Regions from separate parts of the Homo sapiens genome. Here all the other regions are linked to region 6. Evidence: promoter capture Hi-C in 16 types of primary human blood cells and fetal thymus (Javierre and others, 2016). All regions are on one chromosome and are shown on one strand. The core of a region is centred on a gene start or on the middle of the fragment in contact, and the rest is flanking DNA. Distances in the headings are between cores, read along the strand shown.

Evidence for each region. Contacts are between HindIII fragments. The CHiCAGO score rates a contact against its expected background, and 5 or more counts as called.
Region 1: a contact is called between a fragment that was not itself captured here and the fragment with the promoter of ZNF891 in region 6, in 13 of 17 cell types (erythroblasts, M1 macrophages, M0 macrophages and 10 more). The highest score is 11.6, in erythroblasts.
Region 2: a contact is called between a fragment that was not itself captured here and the fragment with the promoter of ZNF891 in region 6, in 10 of 17 cell types (non-activated CD4 T cells, total CD8 T cells, M2 macrophages and 7 more). The highest score is 9.0, in non-activated CD4 T cells.
Region 3: a contact is called between a fragment that was not itself captured here and the fragment with the promoter of ZNF891 in region 6, in 1 of 17 cell types (M1 macrophages). The highest score is 5.4, in M1 macrophages.
Region 4: a contact is called between a fragment that was not itself captured here and the fragment with the promoter of ZNF891 in region 6, in 17 of 17 cell types (M1 macrophages, M2 macrophages, erythroblasts and 14 more). The highest score is 19.7, in M1 macrophages.
Region 5: a fragment that was not itself captured here is called in contact with the fragment with the promoter of ZNF891 in region 6 in 2 of 17 cell types (monocytes and neutrophils); the score reaches 6.7 in monocytes.

The regions. Positions count from the first base shown.
Region 1 is chr12:132,937,330-132,940,108 of GRCh38, forward strand. The region is part of intron 3 of ZNF605 (zinc finger protein 605); the gene reads right to left. Among named protein-coding and RNA genes, the nearest start is that of ZNF605, 18 kb to the right of the region's middle. The HindIII fragment of the contact is 7,051 bases long and covers 1-2,779 here.
Region 2 is chr12:133,000,722-133,003,606 of GRCh38, forward strand. The region is part of intron 1 of ZNF26 (zinc finger protein 26); the gene reads left to right. Among named protein-coding and RNA genes, the nearest start is that of ZNF26, 16 kb to the left of the region's middle. The HindIII fragment of the contact is 2,223 bases long and covers 155-2,377 here.
Region 3 is chr12:132,900,243-132,903,008 of GRCh38, forward strand. It overlaps the pseudogene LOC647503. Among named protein-coding and RNA genes, the nearest start is that of CHFR-DT, 14 kb to the left of the region's middle. RefSeq lists an enhancer at 1,516-1,685 and a cis regulatory region at 1,601. The HindIII fragment of the contact is 6,341 bases long and covers 1-2,766 here.
Region 4 is chr12:132,918,660-132,921,514 of GRCh38, forward strand. ZNF605 (zinc finger protein 605) reads right to left here. Exons shown (of 5, transcript NM_183238.4): 5 at 1-2,855. Among named protein-coding and RNA genes, the nearest start is that of CHFR-DT, 32 kb to the left of the region's middle. The HindIII fragment of the contact is 1,483 bases long and covers 521-2,003 here.
Region 5 is chr12:132,873,700-132,876,527 of GRCh38, forward strand. All of the region lies in intron 3 of CHFR (checkpoint with forkhead and ring finger domains), which reads right to left. Among named protein-coding and RNA genes, the nearest start is that of CHFR, 12 kb to the right of the region's middle. RefSeq lists enhancers at 1-185, 186-881, 882-1,577. The HindIII fragment of the contact is 2,084 bases long and covers 512-2,595 here.
Region 6 is chr12:133,128,892-133,131,591 of GRCh38, forward strand. It overlaps ZNF891 (zinc finger protein 891), which reads right to left and starts at 1,383. Exons shown (of 2, transcript NM_001277291.2): 1 at 1,336-1,383. It overlaps ZNF10 (zinc finger protein 10), which reads left to right and starts at 1,736. Exons shown (of 5, transcript NM_015394.5): 1 at 1,736-1,863. RefSeq lists silencers at 999-1,178, 1,549-1,788 and an enhancer at 1,839-2,118. The HindIII fragment of the contact is 7,004 bases long and covers 771-2,700 here.

The sequences.
Region 1 (2,779 bases), core at 146-2,645, 190 kb before region 6:
GCCTGGGCGACAAGAATGAAACTCTGTCTCAAAAAAAAAAAAAAAAAAAAAGAAAATGTATGGATGGAAAGTAAATATATGAAAAGATGTTCAATATATCTGTCAAAAGGTGAATGCAAATTAAAACTATAATGAAAAACTACTATGTACTTATTAGAAGGCTAAAACTAAACACACACACACACAGACACACACACACACACACACCCCTGACAAATATCTGTGAGGACTCAGAGCAAGAGCAACTGTCATTCATTGTGGTGGGAATGTAAAATGTACAGCAGCTTTTGAAAACATTTTGGCAGTTTCTTATAAAGTTGAACACAGACTTACCACACAACGCAGCAATTCCACTCCTAGGTGTTTACTCAAGTAGTGAACTGAAAACTTACATTCACCTGAAAATTTATATTCAAACCTATATGCAGATGAATGCTTTATTCAAAACTGCTAAAAAGTGGAACAATTAAGATGTCCTTCAATAAGTGAATGGATAGAGACTGTGGCCCATCCATACATGGGATCATATTCAAGGGAATCACACGCCAAGAAAAAGGAAGAAACTACCGATAAGATATGAATGAATCTCAAAGGTATGCTAAGTGAGAAAAGCCACTGTCAAAAGGTCACATATGTGATCCCATTTATTTATTTATTTATTATTTATTTGAGAGGGAGTCTCGCTCTGTCGCCCAGGCTGGAGTGCAGTGGCGCGATCTCGGCTCATGGCAAGCCCCGCCTCCTGGGTTCACGCCATTCTCCTGCCTCAGCCTCCCAAGTAGCTGGGACTACAGGCGCCTGCCACTACGCCCGGCTAACTTTTTGTATTTTTAGTAGAGACGGGGTTTCACCCTGTTAGCCTGGATGATCTCAATCTCCTGACCTTGTGATCCACCTGCCTCGGCCTCCCAAAGTGCTGGGATTACAGGCAAGAGCCACTGTGCCAGGCCGATCCCATTTATTTTTTTATTTTTATTTTTTATTTTTTTGAGACAGAATCTCACTCTGTTGCCCAGGCTGGGGTGAAGTGGCACGATCTCGACTCACTGCAACCTCTGCCTCCTGGGTTCTAGCGATTCTCCTGCCTCAGCCTCCCGAGTAGCTGGGATTACAGGCACACGCCACCACACCCTGCTAATTTTTGTATTTTTAGTAGTGACGGGGTTTCTACATGTTGGTCAGGCTGGTCTCGAACTCCCGACCTCAGGTGATTTGCCCGCCTCAGCCTCCCGAAGTGCTGGTGAGAGGTGACAGCGTGCTGGCAGTCCTCAGAGCCCTCGCTTGTTCTCGGCACCTCCCCTGCCTGGGCTCCCACTTTGGTGGCATTTGAGGAGCCCTTCAGTCCCCCACTGCACTGTGGGAGCCCCTTTCTGGGCTGGCCAAGGCTGGAGCCCACTCCCTCAGCTTGCAGGGAGGTGTGGAGGGAGAGGCACGAGCGGGAACCGGGGCTGTGTGCGGCGCTTGCGGGCCAGCTGGAGTTCCGGGTGGGCGTGGGCTTGGTGGGCGCCGCACTCGGAGCAGCCAGCCAGCCCTGCTGGCCCCGGGCAATGGGGGACTTAGCACCCGGGCCAGTGGCTGCGGAGGGTGTACTGGGTCCCCCAGCAGTGCTGGCCCACCGGCGCTGCGCTCGATTTCTCACCGAGCCTTAGCTGCCTCCCCGCGGGGCAGGGCTGGGCACCTGCAGCCCACCATGCCTGAGCCTCCCACCCACTCCATGGGCTCCCATGCGGCCCCAGCCTCCCTGACGAGCACCACCCCCTGCTCCACGGCGCCCAGTCCCATCGACCACCCAAGGGCTGAGGAATGCGAGCGCACAGCGCAGGACTGGCAGGCAGCTCCACCTGCAGCCCCGGTGCGGGATCCACTAGGTGAAGCCAGCTGGGCTCCTGAGTCTGGTGGGGACGTGGAGAGTCTTTATATCTAGCTCAGGGATTGTAAATACACCAATCAGCACCCTGTGTTTAGCTCAAGGTTTGTGAGTGCACCAATCAACACTCTGTATCTAGCTGCTGGTGAGGACATGGAGAACCTTTATGTCTAGCTCAAGGATTGTAAATACACCAATCGGCACTCTGTATCTAGCTCAAGGTTTGTAAACACACCAATCAGCACCCTGTGTTTTGCTCAAGGTTTGTGAATGCACCAATTGACACTCTGTATCTAGCTGCTCTGGTGGGGCCTTGGAGAACCTGTGTGTGGAAACTCTGTATCTAACTAATCTGATGGGGACGTGGAGAACCTTTGTATCTAGCTCAGGGATTGTAAACGCACCAATCAGCGCCCTGACAAAACAGGCCACTCGGCTCTACCAATCAGCAGGATGTGGGTGGGGCCAGATAGGAGAATAAAAGCAGGCTGCCCGAGCCAGCAGTGGCAACCCGCTCGGGTCCTCTTCCACACTGTGCAGGCTTTGTTCTTTCGCTCTTTGCAATAAATCTTGCTACTGCTCACTCTTTGGGTCCACGCTGCTTTTATGAGCTGTAACACTCACCGCGAAGATCTGCAGCTTCACTCCTGAGCCAGCGAGACCACGAGCCCACCGGGAGGAACGAACACTCCAGACGCACTACCTTAAGAGCTGTAACACTCACCGCGAAGGTCTGCAGCTTCACTCCTGAGCCAGCGAGACCACGAACCCACCAGAAGGAAGAAACTCCGAACACAGCTGAACATCAGAAGGGACAGACTCCAGACGCGCCACCCGAAGAGCTGTAACACTCACCGCGAGGGTCCGCGGCTTCATTCTTGAAGTCAGTGAGACCAAGAACCCACCCATTCT
Region 2 (2,885 bases), core at 16-2,515, 130 kb before region 6:
CCTAATTTTTGTATTTTTAGTAGGATAGGGTTTCACTATGTTGGCCAGGCTGGTCTTGAACTCCTGATTGCAGGTGATCCACCCACCTCTGCCTCCCAAAGTGCTGGGATTACAGGCGTGAACTACCATGCCTGGCCTGTTTTCATTCGTATCAAGCTTAAAGAAATAGTAAAAGGCTTTAAATAAAATAGACAATAAGCCTCCTGGTCTACCCGCTGCTCCTGGTCTACCTGCTATCTGCTGTGCACCTTCCCTCTTCCATCCTGTGTCCCCAGAAGCAGCCACTTTGGGCTCCGTTTCGTCTTCTGCTGTCGACCTCCAGCTTCTAATATGGTCACATCGAAGTGACTTGTTTCATGTTTCTTCTCCCTCAGATTTAAAGTAACCAGCTTGATAAGCACCTCAACGTAATAAGGGCACAGTAGTGGCTTCATTTTTCTCATCACAGCCTCAGGCTTCCTGTCAGCCCTTCCCTAGTGCTCGTCGTGAGGAGAGCTGATGATGCTCTGGTCACAGCCTTGTTTGTTATTGACTCTCAGTTACTTTCAGGTATGGGAAAGTTCAGTCCACACTCTCACTCCAAGCTCTTGTACCTCCCCTCATTCTAGCCTGCAGAGGGGAGATGGAGGAGGCTTGTCTGTATTCCCACTTCATTTACTTGTTGCCCTCCGACGGGGGCTCCTTCTGGGTTGGGGTGGGAAAATCAGTGGTTAGAGAAAAAGACACAGAGTCTCCTGTTGTGCGGTGGTCAGTACCCAGAGTTATGACAGGCATCAGTGGGGCTTGGTTGGAGCCTCTGACAGGGCTCTGCCCTGCAGTTCCATGGTGTATGTGATTCTTTCTCTCACTGCATGCAGACTCACCCAGAAGTCCACTCACTGCCTCTTCCCCTGGGGTCTCCCTCCCTGCAGGTAGTGCTGCTGAGGAGGAGCCTGCTAATGAGCTCAAGTGTCAAGTTCGGGAATCTTCTGGGTGTTCCTTGGGCCCAGGGAAACAGTGCCCTGCCTGAGGTGAGCCGCAGGGAGGCGGGGCCCTGTTTGAGGTGAGCTGCTGAACCCTCACTCCCCAGCTGCCTTTTGAGAGTCCCGCGGCAGTCTTTGCCTTCAGAATTTTTCAGAGGAAAGCAGTTATTCGATCCTTGTTTACTTAAATTCTTAAGTACATGTCAGTTCCTTCTGAAAATTACCCAGATTTAGCCTGGTCGGCTGTTGCAGATGTCCAGGTTGTGTGTGGGGCACTTGCACAGTCCCCTTTTCTTAGAGCCCCTCCTGTTTGAGAGGATGGATACCCGCTTCCCTTTCTTCTCACGTGTTCTTAGCAAGGTCACTTTTCTCCTTCAGTGACTCACTTCTGTGGACTGTTTTCTGGTTGGATCTCCCCCATCTTCCGTCATTCATGGACCAGTTATTCACTATCTTCTTTCTCCGTTTGTTATCCCCAGGCTTCTCCACCTCCTTAAAGGGAAAGTTCTGTAGTTTGCTTGGCCAGGCTGCTTGGTGTCCTCCTGGCCCCCCTTCTGTCTCTCAGCGTGCCATGCTGTCTCTATCAGGTTGTGTTCTGGCTCTGTCCCCACAGGATGCCCAGAATCCAGCCACCATTTATCATCCCCATCGCTGTCACTTTGGCCTACACTGCCTTCTTCCACTGGACTAACACAGTTGCCTTCTAACTGGTCTCCCCGGTATCTCCTCTTACACAACCCCCTCCCTCTTCCACAGCAGTCAGGATGATCTCAAAATACCAGTCAGAGCGAGAAGCCTTTCAGTGGCTTCTCACAGCGCTTGCATTTCTGCCTAGGTATAACCTCATCAGAGAGCTGCCCTGATCACCGTGTCTGAAACAGCACCTGTGCCTCCCTCTGTCTCATGACTCTGTCCCTTACCTGCTTGGATTTTTTGTTTGTTTTTTGTTTTTTTGTTTTGAGATGTAGTCTTCTGTGTCGCCCAGGCTGGAGTGCAGTGGTGCGATTTCTACTCACTGCAACCTCCACCTCATGGGTTCAAGCGATTCTCCTGTCTCAGCCTCCTGAGTAGCTGGGGTTGCAGGTGTACACCAGCATGCCTGGCTAATTTTTGTGTTTTTAATAGAGACAGAGTCTCACCATATTGGCCAGGCTGGTCTCGAACTCCTGACCTCAGGTGATCCACCCGCCTTGGCCTCCCAAAGTGCTGGGATTACAGGTGTGAATCACCATGCCCAGCCTGGATTTTGTTAAGAGTACCTAGCACCCCTGGCATGTTAGGTAGTCATGTGTTGGCTGAGTAACACCCACCCTGGAGACCCTAGGTGGGTGGGACCTGGGAGCCTAATTCATATACTGCTTTTAGCTGTTTACAGTTCACACCTCATTCTCATCATGCAGGATGACTGTTCCCAAAGCTTTTGGGGCTTCTGTGGGAGAGATGGTTTGCTGTGCATCAGCTTACCTCTGGGAGAGCTTTTGCTCACGGAAGTCAGTTACCAGATTTTTGGCTTACTGTTTATTAAAAATTTATCAAAATATCATATTGGCTTCTGTTTATGTAGTTCCCTTTTCTTTTTTTTTTTTTTTTGAGATGGAGTCTCGCTCTGTTGCCCAGCTGGAGTGCAGTGGCGCAATCTCGGCACACTGCAAGCTCTGCCTCCTGGGTTAACGCCATTCTCCTGCCTCAGCCTCCCGAGTAGCTGGGACTACAGGCACCCGCCACCACGCCTGGCTAATTTTTTGCATTTTTAGTAGAGACGGGGTTTCACCGTGTTAGCCAGGATGGTCTCGATCTCGTGACCTTGTGATCCGCCGCCTCGGCCTCCCAAAGTGCTGGGATTACAGGCATGAGCCACCGCCCCTGGCCTCCCTTTTCTTTTAGAGGTGTGTTTGTGTGTACTGTATTCCTGTATGTAATTTA
Region 3 (2,766 bases), core at 122-2,621, 230 kb before region 6:
CAGGCCCTGGGAAGAGCCTGTGGGGTCTCCAGGCCTGTCATCACCTGTTCTGTCACCATCAAAGAAGGCTCACAGCTGAAACAGCAGATCCAATCCATTCAGCAGTCCATCAAAAGGCTCTTAGTCTAAACCTGTGGCCTCTGCCACGTGCTCCCTGCCAACTTGTCCCCCGAGGTTGTGTATCATATTGTCTGTGTTAGCATGTAGTATTTTCAGCTACTCTCTATTGTTATAAAACGTTGAAGTCAAAAAAAAAAAAAAAAAAAAAAAGAAGAGTAATTATCTGCAGACAATGTCAGGGCTTTGCACCAAAATCCTAAAAGTCTACATTGTGATTCTCCTATGCGGGCCTGCCAAGGCTCCACCCAGCATCGCTCTCTGCCACTGACATGTCAAGCACCATTGGATCTGCTGGGTCATGTGACCAAGTGGTAGAGCACCTTGCACAACAGCCTGCATCTGTTGCAGAGCCTTCACTTGTTCTGGGCCCCACTCAAAACTAGCAGCTGGCTGGGAGCTCAAGCCTGTCATCCCATCACTTTGGGAAGCCAAGGTGGGTGGATTGCCTGAGCTCAGGAGTTCGAGACCAGCCTGGCCAACATGGTGAAACCCCGTCTCCACCAAAAATACAAAAAATTAGCCGGATGTGGTGATGCACACCTGTACTAGGGAGGCTAATGTAGGAGGCTAAGGTGGGAGGATTGCTTGAGCCCGGGAGGTGGAGGCTGCAATGAGCCATGATAGCACCACTGGACTCCAGCCTGGGCAACAGAGTGAGACCCTGTCTCAAAAAACAAACAAAAAAAACCCATTTATTTATTTATTTATTTGTTTTTGAGACAGAGTCTCACTCTGTCACCTAGGATGGAGTGCAGTGGCACAATCTCGGCTCACTGCAACCTCTGTCTCCAGGGTTCAAGCAATTCTCCCCCGCCTCAGCCTCCTGAGTACCTGAGATTACAGGTGCCCACCACCAGGCCCAACTAATTTTTGTATATTTAGTAGAGATGGGGTTTTGCCATCTTGGCCCGGCTGGTCTCCAACTCCTGACCTCAGGTGATCCGCTAGTCTCGGCCTCCCAAAGTGCTGGGATTACAGGCGTGAGCCACCACACCTGGCCACAGAAAACCTTTTGAGATAGTCAGTGAGTCATAAAAAATTATCAAACATGGAAATTCTCTTAAGTGAAAATGAAGTGAGCTAATAAGTACATTTTTAAAAGATTACTGATGGGCTGGGTGCGGTGGCTCATGCCTGTAATCCCAGCACTTTGGGAGGCTGGGATGGGCAGATCACAAGGTCAGGAGATCAAGACCATCCTGCCCGACCTGATGAAACCTTGTCTCTACTAAAAAATACAAAAATTAGCCAGATGTGGCAGCGCACTCCTGTAGTCCTAGCTACTCGGGAGGCTGAGGCAGGAGAATTGCTTGAACCCGGGAGGCGCAGGCTGCAGTGAGCCGAGATCGGCCACTGCACTCCAGCCTGGGTACAGAGCGAGAGACTCTGTCTCAAAAAAAAAAAAAAAAAGATTACTGAGGAATTTGCTTCTATTAAAACCAGAAAAGTAAAATTACCTTTTACATTTTCTTTTTTTTTTTTTTTGAGACAGAGTTTCGCTACTGTTGCCCAGGCTGGAGTGCAGTGGCGCAATCTCGGCTCACCACAACCTCCACCTCCCTGGTTCAAGCGATTCTCCTGCCTTAGCATCCCCAGTAGCTCGGATTACAGGCATGTGCCACCACACCCAGTTAATTTTATATTTTTAGTAGAGACAGGGTTTCTCCATGTTGGCCAGGCTGGGCTCGAACTCCTGACCTCAGGTGATCTGCCTGCCTTGGCCTCCCAAACTGCTGGGATTACAGGCATGAGCCACCGTGCCCAGCCCTTTTTTTTTTTTTTTTGAGATGGAGTCTTGCTCTGTTGCCCAGGCTGGAGTGCAGTGGCATGATCTCGGCTCACTGCAACCTCTTCCGCTTCCCAGTTTCAAGCAACTCTCCTGTCTCAGCCTCCTGAGTAGCTGGGATTACAGGCATGCACCACCACACCCGGCTAATTTTTGTATTCTGGTCTCGAACTCCTGACCTTAGGTGATCTGCCTGCCTCAGCTTCCCAGAGTGCTAGGATTTTCCTTTTTTTTTTTTTTTTTTTTTTGTAAGTGAAAGCAAGTTTATTAGAGATGTAAAGAAACAAAAGAATAGCTACTCCACAGGCAGAGCAGCCTATATTTTCCTTTTGATATGAACTTTTTTTTTTTTTTTGAGATGGAGTCTCATTCTATTGCCCAGGCTGGAGTGCAGTGGCGGGATCTGGGATCACTGCAACCTCTGCCTCCCGGGTTCAAGCGATTCTCCTGCCTCAGCCTCCCTAGTAGCTGGGACTACTGGCATGCACCACCATACCCAGCTGCTTTTTTTTGTATTTTTAGTAGAGACAGGGTTTCACCATGTTGGCCAGGCTGGTCTTGAACTCCTGACCTCAGGTGATCTGCCTGCCTTGGCCTCCCAAAGTGCTGGGATTACTGGTGTGAGCCACTGTGCCCAGCCGCTATGAACTATTTTAAGTGGAAATAATGATTTTTATTCTATTTTATTATTTTTTATTTTGAGACAGAGTCTTGCTCTGTTGCCCAGGCTGGAGTGCAATGGCGCAATCTCGGCTGACTGCAACCTCTGCCTTCTGGGTTTAAGCAATTCTCCTGCCTCAGCCTCCCGAGTAGCTGGGACTACAGGCGCGTGCCACCACGCCCGGCTAATTTTTGTATTT
Region 4 (2,855 bases), core at 12-2,511, 210 kb before region 6:
AACCTCCAACTCCTGGGTTCATGTGATTTGCCCACCTCAGCCTCCCGAGCAGCTGGGTTTACAGGTGCTCCACCACACCCGGCTATTTTTTTTGTTTTGTATGTTTAGTAGAGATAGGGTTTTGCCATGTTGGCCAGGCTGCTCTTGAGCTCCTGAACTCAAGTGATCCACCCACCTTGGCCTCCCAAAGTGCTGGGATGACAGGCGTGAGCCATCGCACCTGGCCAGCCTTACCCTTGTAATGAAGCAGTGAAGTACAGCTGGCCCACATCTCAGCCAACATCATCTTCTTACAGAATCTGCTTCATACAAACGCATTACACACAACAGGACACAATGCACATGCCTTGTTCATACCCTCAGAGCTGCCTGGCAAATACCATGGTTTGGGGACGAATCTACACTAGACCTGCCTGGCTGCAGTGGTAACACTCCATTGCCTAACTGCTCCTTTCACATGAGCACGCACTAATGAAAATAAAAAGTTAATTCACTTCTCCCACCCCCTATTGTAAGTTTAAGCTTGATTTGTTTTTTTAAGTACTTTTAGTGATAGGAATGCTTACTTGCTTTATTAATTATTTTTGTGGAGAACAAAGTGCCACTATGTTGCCCAGGCTGGCCTCAAACTCTTGGGCTCAAGCTCTCCTCTCCTCCCAGCTGGGCCTCCCAAAGTCCTGGGATTGCAGGCATGAGCCACCACATCTGGCCAGTAATGCCTTTTTTTTTTTTTTTTTTTTTTTTGAGATGGAGTCTCGCTTTGTCGCTCAGGCCAGAGTGAGTGCAGTGGCGCGATCTCAGCTCACTGCAAGCTCCGCCTCCCGGGTTCACGCCATTCTCCTGCCTCAGCCTCCCGAGTAGCTGGGACTACAGGCGCCCGCCACCACGCGCGGCTAATTTTTTGTATTTTTAGTAGAGACGGGGTTTCACCTTGTTAGCCAGGATGGTCTCAATCTCCTGACCTCGTGATCCACCCATCTTGGCCTCCCAAAGTGCTGAGATTACAGGCATGAGCCACCATGCCCGGCCCTGGCCAGTAATTCTTAAATGAGAACTTCAAGTTATAAATGTCCCTTCACTTACATTTCTTTTCATCTTAACAGTGAATGCCTCGATAGCTACATTCTTTTTGCTGTGCACATTTCGAGATTTAGGTATCACTAAATAAGTTTGGTGTTCCCTGTTTTTTTGTGTGTGTGTGTGATGGAGTCTTGCTCTGTCACCCAGGCTGGAGTGCAGTGGTGTGATCTCAGCTCACTGCAACATCGGCTTCCTGGGTTCAAGCGATTCTCCTGCCTCAGCCTCCGGAGTAGCTGGGACTACACACGTGCCACCAAGCCCGGCTAATTTTTGCATTTTTAGTAGAGATGGGGTTTCACCATATTGGCCAGGCTGGTCTCGAACTCCTGACCTTGTGATCTGCCTGCCTTAGCCTCCCAAAGTGTTATGATTACAGGTGTGAGCCACCGCGCCCAGCGCCTGATTTATTTATTTTTTTGAGACAGAGCCTCGCTCTATCACCCAGGCTGGAGTGCAGTGGTGTGATCTTGGCTCACTGCAAGCTCCACCTCCCAGGTTCACGCCATTCTCCTGCCTCAGCCTCCTGAGTAGCTGGGACTACAGGCGCTGGCCACCTCACCTGGCTAATTTTTTGTATTTTTAGTAGAGACGGGGTTTCACCGTGTTAGCCAGGATGGTCTCGATCTCCTGACCTCGTGATCCACCCGCCTTGGCCTCCCAAAGTGCTGGGATTACAGGCGTGAGCCACCGCGCCTGGCCTGGTTTATTTAATGTTAGCATTCTGACAAGATGTTAAATGACCCGGATACAATGAGTAATAATTGTGTTCTAAGTTGCAAAGATCCCATAAGGGAAATAAAGAATTATTAAATATCATCACCAACTTCACAGATTTGGTCTCAAAGTAAATCTGCTACATACTAAATAATTTAAATTAATATGGTGATGGAGTGTGTGGCGTTGGAAGAAAACTTGTTGAAGAAAGCTTACTTTATTTTTATTCATTTAAGAGGCAAGGTTTCACTCTGTCACTCAGGCTGGAATGCAGTGGCCCCATCATGGCTCACTGCAGCCTTGAACTCCTGGGCTCAAGTGACCCTTCTGCCTCAGCTTCCCAAGTAGCTGGGATTACAGACATGCACCATCATGGCTAACTTTTTTTTTGAGATGGAGTTTTGTTCTTGTTGCCCAGACTGGAGTGCAATGCCGTGATCTCGGCTCACTGCAACCTCCTCCTCCCAGGTACAAGTGATTCTCTTGTCTCAGCCTCCCAAGTAGCTCGGATTACAGGCATGTGCCACCATGCCCGGCTAATTTTTTTGTATTTAGTAGAGACGGGGTTTCACCATGTTATTCAGGCTGGTCGCGAACTCCTGAACTCAGGTGATCCACCCACCTCGGCCTCCCAAAGTGCTGGGATTACAGGCTTGCGTCACTGCACCCAGCCTCTCATGGCTAATTAAATTTTTTTTTTGTAGAGATGAGTCTTGCTATGTTGTCCAGCTGGTCTCAAACGCCTGGGCTCAAGCGGTCCTCCCAATTTGGCCTCCCCAAGCACTGGGATTACAGGTGTGAGACACCACCCCCAGTTGAAAAGTTACTTTGGATATAACTGATTTGAATTTTATTCTTGTGAAATAGTGATGAGATTTTATATTGTCTACTTCTAAGCGGCAGACAGTCATCATGAGGCAAATAAAATTTTCTAAGGTAAGGAGAGTGAGAATGGCCTTTCCCCTTTAGTCTATGGCAAAATAAAGGGGGGCATGGGAGAATCCTGATGGTGGAAATCATTTTATTCTCATACACAGGTTATTACAGCACAATTAGGAAGA
Region 5 (2,828 bases), core at 304-2,803, 260 kb before region 6:
TCTGTGTCCTCCTGCTCCACAGGGCTGGCTACGGGGCTAGAGTGTGCACGGACTTGGGTGCATGCAGGGGGCTGGAGCCAATCCCCCCAGATGCCGAGGGGCGACTGCAGCCATCACTCATCCTCCTGTTCTTTCCAAACAAAAATCTGATTATTTCACTCCTCCGCTTACACCCCTTTGATGACTCCTCACTGCTCTCAGGCTAAAGCCCAAGCTCCCTTGTGTGACTTTGCCGCTCACCACACGCTCCGACCACACAGCCCTGCTTATGCTCAGGGGCCCCTACACACGTGGTTCCTTCTGCCTGAGCACCCCTCCCCTCCAGCCCACCTCTGCCAAGGAACGTGGCACCTCTGGAACCTGGAAAAGGCAGAGAACAAATTCTCCCCTGGAGCCTCCAGAAGAAACCAGCCCTGTTCAGACCTGGATTTTAGCCCCATCAGACCCATATCGGACTCTGGACCTCCATAACTATAGTAAGACAGCAAATTTGTGTTTTTTAAATCCATTAAGCTTGTGGTAAATTACAATAGCCATAAGAAAGTACCACCACCATGCAGTCAGCACAGGGATGCCATGCCCTGAAGCAGGCGGGACGGCCCAGGACCAGCACCCAGCGTGGGGAAGCCAGGCCCTGGAACAGGCAGGGAGGCCCAGGACCAGCATTCAGCGCAAGGAAGCCAGGCCCTGGAACAGGTAGAAAGGCCCAGGACCAGCACCCAGCGCGGGGAAGCCAGGTCCTGATGTAGGCGGGAAGGCCCAGGACCAGCACCCAGCACAGGGAAACCAGGCCCTGGAACAGGTGGGAAGGCCCAGGACCAGCACCCAGCGCGGGGAAGCCAGGCCCCGGAACAGGCGGGACTGCCCAGGACCAGCACCCAGCGTGGGAAAGCCAGGCCCCAGAACAGGCGGGACTGCCCAGGACCAGCACCCAGCGCGGGGAAGCCAGGCCCCGGAACAGGCGGGACTGCCCGGGACCAGCACCCAGCGCGAGGAAGCCAGGCCCCGGAACAGGCAGGAAGGCCCGGGACCAGCACCCAGCGCGGGGAAGCCAGGCCCTGGAACAGGCGGGACTACCCAGGACCAGCACCCAGCGTGGGGAAGCCAGGCCCTGGAACAGGCGGGACTGCCCAGGACCAGCACCCAGTGCAGGGAACCCAGGCCCTGGAACAGGCGGGACTGCCCAGGACCAGCACCCAGCGCGGGGAAGCCAGGCCCTGATGTAGGCGGGAAAGCCCAGGACCAGCACCCAGCACGGGGAAGCCAGGCCCTGATGTAGGCGGGAAAGCCCAGGACCAGCACCCAGCGTGGAGAAGCCAGGCCCTGATGTAGGCAGGAAAGCCCAGGACCAGCACCCAGCATGGGGAAGCCAGGCCCTGAAGCAGGCGGGACAGCTAGGGACCAGCACCCTGCCTTTCCCATTGTGCCAAGAAATAGAGAACTTAATCTGATATCTATTAGACTAGGAAACGGAGCATCAGTTCTTCCTATTAAAACCTACTTCCTAGTCTTCTATCCCTGAAACTATCAGTTACCAAAGAATCTCACAGAGCCTGATCTTTACCAAACAAAAAAAATCCTGCAGTGAGAACAGCACACTCTCAACATACTGCTAGAAGACCACCTGCCACTTGCAGCAGATTTAAAAGACGCACATTCTGGCCGGGTGTGGGGGCTCACACTTGCAATCCCAGCACTTGGGGAGGCTGAGGCAGGTGGATCACCTGAGGCCAGGAGTTCAAGTCCAGCCTGGCTAGCATTGTGAAACCCCATCTGAGCTAGGCGTGGCGGCGGGCACCTGTAATCCCAGCTACTCGGGAGGCTGAGGCAGGAGAATCGCTTGAACCCGGGTGGCGGAGGTTGCAGTGAGCCGAGATCGCACCAACAGCACTTCAGCCTGAGCCACAGAGCGAGACTCCGTCTCAAAAAAGAGAAAAAAAGGAATAGGCACATTCTGAGTAACACTGACACAGACTTCCCTTCCGAGAAATCATCCCAAGAAAACAGACATGAAGGCAGAGTTTGGGAAAGAGTCACTGCAGTGTTATTTATAGTAAGAAAAAGTCAAAACAATAAATGTCCACCAATAAGGGAAGTGACAAAGAAACTATCCTAAGATAATGAAAAGATGAGCTGGATGTAGATGCAGTGACATGTGAAGCGCTCCATAAAACACCGTAAGTGAAAAAAGCTGGCCGGGCGCGATGGCTCACGCCTGTAATCCCAGCACTTTGGGAGGCTGAGGCAGGCAGATCACCTGAGATCAGGAGTTCGAGACCAGCCTGGCCAGCATGGTGAAATCCCGTCTCTACTAAAAACACAAAAAAATAGCCGGGCTTGGTAGTGTGTGCCTACAATGCCAGCTACTCGGGAGGCTGGGGCAGGAGAATGGCTGGAACCTGGGAGTCGGAGGTCGCAGTGAGCCGAGATCGTACCACTGCACTTCAGCCTGCAACACAGTGAAACTCCATCTCAAAAAAAAAAAAGAAAGAAAGAAAAAAGCTGACGCTACAACAGTATGTGTAGTGTGATTGCATTTATGCAAAATATATATACCAACATATGCATTTTTAACGTATGAATAGGATTTTGGAAAGCTTTCCACTTTCCAAGTTGAATATCCCTAAGCTGAATGTCCCTAATCAGAAATGTGAAATCCAAAACTTTTTGAGCACCAACAAGACACTCAAAAAAATACTCACTGGAACATTTCAGAATTTTGATTCAGACATGCTCAACTGGTAAGTATAATGAAAATATTCTAAAATCTGAAACAATCCAAAATCTAAACAGTCTAGTTTCAATCATTTCAGATACTCAATCTGTAC
Region 6 (2,700 bases), core at 133-2,632:
CCAAAACAAAACAACAAAAAAACCAAAACCAAATCTACATTTTTGAAAAGACTATGTACACATATACCTTATAGGAGTAATCAAGAAAAAAAGGCCTAGATAATTAGGTTCAAAAAAGAAAAAAATAACAATTACAGCAGTAAAATATTAAAAAGTGGTGATTTTAAAAATCACCATAGAAATTACTTACAGTGATAAAATAGCATGGGCAATTTTATGCCAATAAATTTGAAAAATTAGATTAAAAACAATTATCTAGGAAAGGTATCTAAAACAGAATACGAACTAAAAAACCTAATCAATGAGACTTTTTAAAAAATTGAGTCAGGGCCGGGTGCGGTGGCTCACGCTTGTAATCTCAGCGCTTTGGGAGGCCGAGGCAGGCTGATCACCTGAGGTCGGGAGTTCCAGACCAGCCTGACCAACATGGAGAAACCCCATCTCCACTAAAAATACAGAATTAGCTGGGCGTGGTGGCTCATGTCTGTAATCCCGGCAACTCACAAGACTGAGGCAGAAGAATCACTTGAACCCGGGAGGCGGAGGTTGCTGTGAGCCAAGATGGCGCCATTGCACTCCAGCCTGGGCAACAAAGAGCGAAACTCTGTCTCAAAAAAAAAAAAAAAAAAAATTGAGTCAGAAGTTAAATGCGTACTAAATATTTTAAGACCAAATAGCACCAAACTTTTGGAGGCGGGCGGGGGGCGGTGAGGGGTGGTGACCTGTTTTACAGAATAGAAGAGAGACTGTGCTGTCCAAATTATTCATGAAGCTTGTAAAATCTTGTTAGTATAACGGGCAAGGATAGTACACAAAAAGATTAAAACACAATCTTGTGAGCATAGGTGAAGTCAAAGGGAAACAGCCAATTGAATACACCAGAGTATTAAAGAAATAAAACCATATCGCATTCAACCACAGTATAAGGCAATAGGTGAAAAAAACGATGGCTGTGATTCAACTCATTACTAGGTTTAGAGATTCAAGAGAGGCTGCTGGACAGAGGCGTGCACCCTTTAGCCCTCCCGTGTTGCTTAGAGAAGGAGGCAAACGCGCATCCCCGGCCCCCCAGCGCTCCCTGCGTGGCACCCGCAGCCAGCCCGGGACCCCTCCGCCCCGCGCGCCCCTGGTCCCCACTCGCTCCCCGCGCTCCACTCGCACCCGGTAAGTAGCCCCTCCTCCCTCAAGGGCCTCTCCCACCGCCGCCTCCCGGGCAGGCTCCCTGCTGCTCAGACTCCCGTGAGGCGATCCCTGCACGCAGGAGAACTCAGCGGGCCAGGCTGATCCCACGAGGGACTTGTCCCGGGTGAACGAGCCACAGGCCCGCATGCTCACCCGTCCTCAGTGCCTGCCTCCAGGCGTCCGCGGTCCCGCCCGAGGGGGACGCGAGGCCGAACTACGTTTCCCAGGAGCTCCTGCGCCGCCCCGCAGAGGGGCCTGGTCTGTGCGTCACGGACGCGCTCTGGGCCGAAGGCCCGCAGGGTCCGGCACAGAGTGGCGGCTGCGGCGCCGGCGACGAATCGCCGGCTCTAGGGTCCCGGGGCGCGCGGCTGACGGGCTGGGGGCGGAGCGTGGCCTGAACGCCAGGCTGGGGCGCGTGCGTAACGGTGTGTGTTGTGGGTGCGTGTGCGTGCGTTCGCAGCAGGGGCGGGCGTAGGACCAATGGGGGCGGGGCGCGTGCGCGTGCGTGACGTCAGGCCACGGGGAGGTGGCGCCGCCGTGCCGAGCCGGCCTCAGACTCACCTCTGACGCCGCTCTTCGCGCTCCGCTGGTGAATGGAGTCGCGTTCTCTGTTTTGCTGTTGCTGCTGCCTTTGTGACGGGATCGCTTTCTCCCATCGAACCTTCTAGTTGCTTATTGCAGGTATATACGAAAGTGCTGAATTTTGTGTTTGCATCGTCATCAGGCGCGTGTTGAGCCCTTTAGTAATGTAGCAGTGTATTAGCTTCGTATTTCTAGGTAGACGGTAATTTCGTCAATGAAAAAATTTAACGGTGATCGTCACCCCTTGCCTCAGTCACTTTCTGTCCCTCGCGCGGCCCCGGCGTTCACGGCGGACGTTCTTGTTCTGTGGAGAATAACGGCTGCACCTGGAGATTGACGCAGAGTGGGCGGCGGTGGTGGTAAGTTTGAACCAGATATTTTCAGTAATACAAAATAAGGTTTCTTCTAGTCTAACTTCCATTTTTCCCCCCAGCTGGGATAGATGTTTAAAATTTTGCATATGGCCTTTCTAGTATTTGTTGAAATAGTGACGCCGATTCGTGTGTGGTCTTTTAAAAACAAATCCTGCATCTCTAGCTCTTAGCTTCCTCATCTTTGTTTTGTTTTTTAATCAGATAGATTAACTGAAGGCGTGTTTGTGTGGTTAATCTATTTTTTTTATTTTCAGAGACAGATCATAAGTTTAATTACTATATTTTTATTTTCCCTTGACACTAGATATATATACGCCATCTAACACATAATATGAGTGTCAAAGATAAGGTTAACATCAAGATTTCGTACGTAGATCCCACCCAAAGTGTATGCAGAAGGTGAACAATTTCAATTCCAGCTATACATTAATTGCAGAAAGATACTGTTAATTAAAAAAAAAAAAGTAAAAGGGAAGGCAGGATGTCACCCAGAATGCCAGCCAACAAGTGTTATTAGGTTAGAAATGACTGCAGTTAGGTCTCCGAGAACTGGATAGCACAA